Regions from separate parts of the Homo sapiens genome. Here region 2 is linked to region 1. Evidence: promoter capture Hi-C in 16 types of primary human blood cells and fetal thymus (Javierre and others, 2016). All regions are on one chromosome and are shown on one strand. The core of a region is centred on a gene start or on the middle of the fragment in contact, and the rest is flanking DNA. Distances in the headings are between cores, read along the strand shown.

Evidence for each region. The method cuts DNA at HindIII sites, captures the fragments that hold promoters and counts their contacts. A CHiCAGO score of 5 or more calls a contact.
Region 2: a contact is called between a fragment that was not itself captured here and the fragment with the promoter of PPP1R12A in region 1, in 1 of 17 cell types (neutrophils). The highest score is 5.3, in neutrophils.

What each region holds. Positions count from the first base shown.
Region 1 is chr12:79,932,156-79,936,367 of GRCh38, reverse strand. PPP1R12A (protein phosphatase 1 regulatory subunit 12A) reads left to right here and starts at 1,271. Exons shown (of 25, transcript NM_002480.3): 1 at 1,271-1,673. The coding sequence starts at 1,437. It overlaps PPP1R12A-AS1 (PPP1R12A antisense RNA 1), which reads right to left and starts at 1,087. Exons shown (of 2, transcript NR_146535.1): 1 at 814-1,087. RefSeq lists enhancers at 756-1,321, 1,045-1,339, 1,386-1,685, 1,322-1,885, 2,026-2,085 and 1 more and a silencer at 1,766-1,855. The HindIII fragment of the contact is 9,894 bases long and covers 1-4,212 here.
Region 2 is chr12:80,947,436-80,951,603 of GRCh38, reverse strand. No RefSeq gene overlaps it. Among named protein-coding and RNA genes, the nearest start is that of LIN7A, 12 kb to the right of the region's middle. The HindIII fragment of the contact is 3,205 bases long and covers 1,012-4,168 here.

The DNA.
Region 1 (4,212 bases), core at 22-2,521:
CTGGGTAAAATTAAGTAAATTAATTAGTTCTTGAGGGACTCTGTCTAGATGACCCCTAAACTTCCATGGTAAGGTTTTGTGGTTTTTATCTTGGCTTTTCTAAATGCTCTAAAAATAGTAGTGGATGGTAACAATGCAGTGTTCAGTAAAATCAATTGGTGGAGATTGTAGATAGATGGCTCATAAGACATCAGTATTACAAATCCTATGTGTGTGCGCGTGTGGTCATACAAGGCAAAGTTAAAGTCTTTTTTTTATGACGATGATAAATTAGTCTTGTTTGGGCGACTGAACTCAAGAGGTGGTTCAAATAAATGTCATATTTTTCATTGTATCTTCAGTGCCTAGTACAGTTACTGGCTCATAGTAGGTATTCAATAAATAGTGGTTGAATTAATTGCCTTCCTTAACGTTCCGTTTAAATGCTAGACGCAGCTAGGTCTTTACCCCTCCTTAGAAAGAGATGGAGCTGTAACCAGAAATCCCTTAAAAGGTAAGGACCAGTAATCAGGCTGAGCTAAGCTCATGGGTAGTACGAGACAGGCTTAAAGCACTGAAGGAAGAAAGAAGAGAACCCAAGCGTGAGAGAAAGCAAAACAAAACAAGTAAAGAGAGGAAGAAAAACATTTCTAAAGTGGGGGTTGGCAGGAAGCCACAGCAATTACAGCAGGTCAACCCTTGTCAATAGGTGGTCACCTCAAGAACTTACCATTAAAACCCTCGGCCACACAGACCCCACTTTTAAAAGGTTATTAATTCTGACATGCCCAAGTTCATCTGAGTTCCTTAGAAAGATCAACCAGCAGCACCTACTTCACGACCTATCCTCCATTCCATTCAAATAACGCGGCCAATAGGAAAATCCTCCGCCCTGAGCCAACGACTCGGCGTAGCTGAGACAGCACGGGAGGCAGATCTGCCCTGTAGAGCCTTGCGGTTCCACTGCTGGCCTCCGGATTCCCGGGAGCCCCCAGCCCGACAGGACAACCTTCCTTCCCCGCTTCCTCCTTTCCAGGTCTGTCCCAGCCCCCGCTGCCTGGGCCACACCCGCTTCCCTCTGGTGGCCCAGCCACCACCGCCGCAGTTCGCGGGAGCGCTCTTCCTGGGGCGGGCACAGGCCCAGGGCGCATGCGCACTGGTCGAAGGGCGCCTCCCAGTCCGGATCTCGCGAAGTTACGTTAGATTGGCCGCCGGTGACGGGTGGCCGTGCTGGGGGCGGGAGGGCTTCTGTGGTAGGAAGGGAGGTCCGCTCGGCCGGGTGCGCCGCCCCAGTGCTCTGTGGGATACTGGAAGTCTCGAGCGTCGGCTCCGGGTTCCCAGCCCTCCTCTGGCCCGCACTCATAGAAACATTCACACACCCCCTGCCTCCCCTCTCTTCCCTCTCCGCCTCCCCCTTCCCCCCCTCGCGATAAGAAGACCCGGCGGCAGGAGAGGGGATGAAGATGGCGGACGCGAAGCAGAAGCGGAACGAGCAGCTGAAACGCTGGATCGGCTCCGAGACGGACCTCGAGCCTCCGGTGGTGAAGCGCCAGAAGACCAAGGTGAAGTTCGACGATGGCGCCGTCTTCCTGGCTGCTTGCTCCAGCGGCGACACGGACGAGGTCCTCAAGCTGCTGCACCGCGGCGCCGACATCAATTACGCCAATGTGGACGGACTCACTGCCCTGCACCAGGTCTGTGCGCCCCGCCGCCGGCTCTCCTGACCGTGAGGGTTCTCGTCGGCCTCCTGCTCGGGCCTGCCCTCAGTTCTCCACCTCTTGAGGCTGGGGGCGGCGGGAGACTCCCTGCTGCGGGGTGAGGGGGCGGTTTCCCCAGAGGGCGGGAGGGAGAGCTGGTGGAAGGGAGGGCGCTGGGCTTGAGGCCCCCCTTCAGAACAGTTGCTGGTGGAGTTGGGAACCGGGTGATTTCCGGGGCATAGGGGAAAAGGAACTGTGGTCGTTTGGGGCCCCAGGGCCATTCGTGGATAAGTCTGGGATTTGGGGTCGAGACAAGGAGGGGTGTAGTGGGGTTGTGCCTGGGCCCCGGTGTCAGTGGTATATTCGGAGGGGTGGATGCTGAAGGAAGAAAACTAACAAGGGGCATTACGGACGGTTAGGCAGATGAACATCTTTGACTTGTAGGTGGGCATTGGATTTGTTGCACTTTTTAGGACTTGATTACAAATGATGATAATAATAGTAATCTAGAGCCCTAAGCCGAGTGCCCTGAACGAACGATTTCCTGTTTTCTCATTTATTACTCTTGGTCACTGGGGAGGGGAAAACAGGGTGTAATTAGCTGATCTGCACCGGCTGAAAGGAAGGGGATGGAAGTGGGTAGAGTAAGGAAGCCCTCTAAAGGGCTTGCCCACCTCCGGACCGGAACGTGTTGAGTCTGATACTCGAAGTTTGCCGCAGTGTCAGAGATCCTTGAGCCCCAGGTCCTCGGGTGTGCACTGGTGTTAGAAAGAGAAGAATAAATAGGGGACACTCTTTTCAAAGCCGGTTACCAAGCTCTGGTTTTTCTTTTGGGGTTGGGAAAAAAGAAAGCTGGTCACAAACTTTTCTCAAAATGGATGCTTTGTGCATATTAAAGTTTTATAGTAGTCTGATTGGGATCTCTCAATGTTAGCCAAATAAGGAGAAACTATTGGCAATCCAGAGATAATGTTGCCTTGCCTTTAACAGGCCAAAAGCAACACAACCACGTAGAGTTATGCATAAAAAGCAATTTTTAAGTGACGGTAATAGGTGACAAAACATAGGCTTTTTCTATTTTCTTAGCGGGCAACTTGGAATAACTGTAATAGAAAATGACTTTGCAGCGATAGCTTCCCCTTAACAATGAAAAGACTTGTAAGCTATCTCAAAGTTGCCTTGGTTGTGTGTGGAAGATGCATAGCCTTATTTTGAATAATGTTGTAGTAAAAACTTGTTTGGGAGGTTGAAACTCAAGGCTTTATATTTCATGAATATTAACTTGATGCCTTTTAAAAAAAAGGTGTGTAGTGACATTTTTCCTTGTCCTGCTTACTGTTTAAGGGAGTGATGACCATTTTAAATTTTGTGTAATGGAATTCTCTTATCAGACTTGGAGTATAGCCTTTGTTTACAAAGTTGACTGGATATATTGAAATGATTGACACATTGCAGGACAAATATGGAATTAAAAATGTGGCACCCAGTAAAAATATAGCAGGGTGTCTAGCGCTTTCTCAATTTCATTAATTTAGATTCTCTAATGCATAGCAAACTTTTTATTTGGGTGAAGTTTATTTAAGGCATATCATAACTCGTAAAATTTTAAAACCATGGTGTTGAGAATGAAGGAAACTTTTGGCATTAAAAATGATAATGTAATTATATAAGATGAATCTTCAAATTTCTTTCAAGTGTACTTTACACGTTTTAGTGTGAAACAGATTTTGAAAGACGATTATTACTGTAGGAGGTCAGGATAATTGGATAATGGTTCGCATCAATATGTTTTATTCAAATTGTCAAATAGAAATTTAAAGTTACTATTGTTGTGGAGGAACCCAGTTGTATTGGCTTAGAGGAAGACGAAAAGTTTTGATATTTACATTATTGTGATACTGGTTTAGGGAGGAAGAGAAAATACATTTAACTGCCTTCTTAAGATCTTTTTTTCTCCTCTCAATATTCACACGTTACAAGAATTGTCAGACTTACCAATGTCTTCCTGATTAACTGAATTCAGTGGTCAGTTTGGTGTTGTGTAGATATATCTTTATTGGGTATTTTGTTTTAGTTGACAAACAGAAGTTTCTAAATTTACTCCATTTGCGTAATATCTTTCTGTCACTTTTTGTCACTGTGAGTGTGGGTTTGACCCGATAATCTCCAACCGCCTCCCCTTTTCCATAACATTTTTCCATATCTGCAAATGCCTTAAATCGGTGAAGCCAAAGTCTTTAAAATATCAAGCATTAAAAATTTGTGTTATGTTTTCTTCACTCTCATTTCTTATTTATCAACTCTTGTACTTTTTTCCCATTGTTACTATGAAAACAGGGAGTTCACTTTGGGCAAATTTAGGACAACAGTTAGTGAAAGACAATAAATAAAATTAAAAACCACACACACACAAGAAAATTTTAAGCCTTTAAGAAATCTCTTGAACTTAGCTTGTTTTCCATACTTAATTGTAAAAACTAAAATCACTGATTTAATAGTCCTTGAATAGTTCTTTAAAACTTTAACCTCTCAAAAG
Region 2 (4,168 bases), core at 1,365-3,864, 1.0 Mb before region 1:
ATCATCATTTCAGAACTCATCTTGAAATAAATAGGTATCCTTAATAATTCCCCCAAAGCTTCCCAGAATGAACCTCTCATCACTGATGTAGTATCAATATTTTTTTATATCCTATTCCGTCAAAATCTCTCATGCTTTTTTTCATTATTTCATTGTTGTTCTTTATTTACAAGTCTGTTAATACTTAAGCCATCTTGAGACTTAATTATTACCATGTTTTTATACTACCTGGGATCAGATAAGCTACTATAATTAAAGGGTATTCACAAAAGAATACAGTTATACAGTTATTTGGGGGTATATAAAGGGACACTTTAGGAAAGGTGTGGGATGTTAAGAAAACGTGGGTCTTCAGAATTTTACACTTAGGCCACTGCATACTTTCCTTTGTATACCATTGATTTTTCTACAGTCAGACTTATAAATCTTCAAAAAAGTAATGTTTTTTTCATTTCTGCCATAGCGAACATTGAAGAAAATTGTATGGAGGGCCATCCAGCCAATGAGTCAAGCTGTAGTGTGGTGTGAAGGCCTGTCTCCATGACCTGAGAATGAATCTCTTCTCTTCATATTAACATAGAATATCATTAGTTCATGTGGATAATTTTGTTTGACATTCTGTAATTATACCTTTTTAAAATTCATCATCATTTTTCTATAATAAGTTTTAATACACTGGCAAGAAGGACCTCCTGTCACCTTCCTGCTCAAAAAGCTTTAGACTGAATGAATCTTAAGCTCCTTAAGGTAACTCTCAGAGCCCCCTGTGGTATCTTTCTTTTCCCTTTTCTACCAGCTTCTTTCTACTTTTCACAGGTTTCCACTTTCCTTCATGTCTCCCATGTTCCAGACAAGTAGACTGTTTCAATAATAAAACACATACCATCATTTCCTGAGTGTACATTTAGACATTCTGTTTAGTTCAACTGAAATGTTTTTCAATCCTACCTCCACCTAAAAACTCTTCTGTTTTAAAAGATCCAGCATAAATACCACCATATTCATGAAGCTTTCCATGTTCCATGTAATACTGTGTTCATATCTCTTATATATGGTGGTGCTTACCATGTCCTACCCTGTTTTGCAGAGAATTGTGATAAATATTAAGTTCCTGTAGGGCAAGGGCCACATTTTATTTATTTTTTTCTTGTAAATCTCCATAGAACATAGTAGATAAAACATCTTGTACAAAGTGAGCAGTTAATAACTGTAGTTGAACTGATTTTCCATTGTAAAATGTATTTTAAATGGAGATTATTTGCTGGGCAGTATATTGTTCTCTTACTCATTCTTTTATTTATGTATTTATTTATATTTTGGGACAGGATCTTGCTCTATTGCCCAGGCTGGAGTGCAGTGGTGTGATCATGGCTCACTTCAGTCTTGACCTCCTGGGTTCAAGTGATCCTCCTGCCTCAAACCCCACCTGAAGGAGCTGGGACTACAGGCCGCACCACCATGCTGAGCTAATTTTTGTATTTTTTTTTTTTTTTGTAGAGTCGGGGATTCACCATGTTGTCCAGACTGTTCTTGAACTCCTGGGCTCAAACAATCCACCTGCTTTGGCCTCCCAAAGTGCTGGGATTACAGGCGTGAGCCACTGTGCTGGCCTTCTACTTCTTTTATTCACAAATATTTATTGGGTATCAGTAAAATGCCAAGCAATGAATATGCAGTGGCAAACAAACATTGTCCCTCTACTTGTGGAATTTACAATCTAGTGTAATAACACAGTGTAGTATAAAGGGCACTGGACTGGTTGAAACTTGGACTTCAGTCTCAGCCCTGTTCCTCACCAACTAGGAATAGTGGGGCAGTTGATATAATCTCTCTGGGTCTCATTTCATTTTCCACTGTTGGTTAAATTTGATACTCGTAATGAGTATCAAATTCCATTATGGCTCAAAAATGTTTTCATATTTTGTCTTGATTCTGGAGCAACATGTTCAGATGGATGCAACTTGTTCTATGATATATTTGTCAATATCAGGGCTGTCTTTCTTTCTTTTCTTTTCTTTTTTTTTTTTTTTTTGAGTTGCTTTCTCTCTGTGTGCACCAAAGACAGAATCAATGTATATGGGTGCATAGTAAGTAACATCAAATAGAAATAAAGAAGTAAAAATCAGCTTCAAATATTTTAGTAGGCCTAGAATCATGTACTAAACATTAATCATAAAACAATATAGAATTAGCAGTGTATTGCTTTAGAAAAATGATGGCCACATTGGAAAATCCTGAACAGGAAGTTTCCTGGAGTCATGAGGGTTTCCTCCATCCACGTTTACTCAGTCAGGCAGTCATGATGGGAAAGATCATCTGCTCCAAATCAGTTCAGTGCTCTATGGAGAAATTGAGGCCACTAAGCAATAGCCGAACTATAGAGTATTACGCATTACTTTGAAGACTATTAAAAGAAGTAATTCACAAAGCTACTCATAGAGTCCATATTTTGGCATTTAAGAGGATTGAGAATGGAAGAACCTATATGGCCAAGGCAGTATCCATCAACTCAGGTGAAGCAGATCCTTCAAAAACTGATTAAACCTGGACCTCGATCCACTTTTATTAACTCTCTCTCTCTCTCTCTCTCTCTATATATATACATTTTATTAACTCTCTCTATATATATAACTTCTATATATATAACATATATATACACATTATATGTATATAACTTATGTATATCACTTATATATACACATATATGTGTATATATGTAAGTTTTATATATATATACACACACACACACACACACACACACACACACACACACTTAAAAAAAGAAAAACAAAAAAAACCTCTATGCAATATTTATTTCAATACTCTGTACTCTTCTCAGACCTAGTTTGGTCTCAGTACATGGCTTTGTTTCTTATATCACTAAATCCAGGGTCTTTGTTCAGGTTGGCTCTTATTCTCTCAGCAGCGCTTGTGACACAGCGCCCATTTCTTTTGTATTCCCTTGCTGTGTATGTTATCAGTCTCTCTTAGTTTTCCTTCTACCTCTTGTTTCTCCTTTCCTGGATCCTTTTCCTTTATATGAACTTTAAATGTAGGATTTCATCAGGGTTTAGTGTGAGACACTCCCCATTCAGTAGTCTTTCTTTGTGTGGTTTCCTCCTCTCTAGTAATTTCAATTATAATTCAAATGGTTTCCAAGTTTATACCTCTAGTTCAGGACTTTTCTTAGCTACAGACTCATAGTTCATCAATTATGACATAACCATTTTGACATCTCAAAAGTGTCAAACTTTGATGTCAAACTTCATAAGTTGAAAACTAACTTTTCTTCCCAATTTTTCCTTCAATATTTCCTACCGCCATTTATCCATTCATTCATGTCAGAAGCCTAGGAGGCACTTTTTAATATTGTGTCTCCTTTACCACTTGCATACAATCTTACCAAAGGCCATGGGTGTTATCCTTCAAGCATTTCTGGGATCCATCCACTTCATTGAATTTCAATTCCATCTTTGTAGTCCAAACCACTGTACTTTCTTACCTGGATTGCTGAATAACCTCTTTAATGGTCACTTCTAATTTATACCTGCTCCCTGCACCCTGATCACTCTTCACATTGCATTCAGATATTAAAGAAAATACAAATCTCTTTATTTCACTTACTCTGCTATTTAAGACTACTCCCATAACTTCCCATTTCTCTTGGGATGAAATCCAAAATCCCTCATGTGGCTTTCAAGACCTGTTATTTTTACCTTAGCTTGGCAGACTCTCTGGTTCTGCTTCCTTAAGCCACATTGACCTTTCTCTCTGCTTTTTGAAAGGGCCAAGTGCTTTCATGCCTAAGGTACCCCATAGGGTACCTGATCTTGGAATGGTCTCTACAACCCTCACCTTTGCTTGGTTAACATCTAATACTCATTCTTCACATTATACCGTAAGTGTTACTGCTCTGGAGATATCCTTTCTGAATCCCAGATCGGTTTATGTACCAGTTACAGGCTTTCTCATTGCACGATGTACTTTCCTCAATTGCATTTATATTATTGAGGAATAATTCCTACAAATACCAATAATTCCAGTTGGGTATTGGTGGTTTTGAAAACCGCTCAATGTTTAGTGCTTAGCACAGCATGTGGCACTTAGTATCAACTAGACATGAAATTATAGAATAAATGAACCAATCTCTCTCTCTCTCTCTATTTCT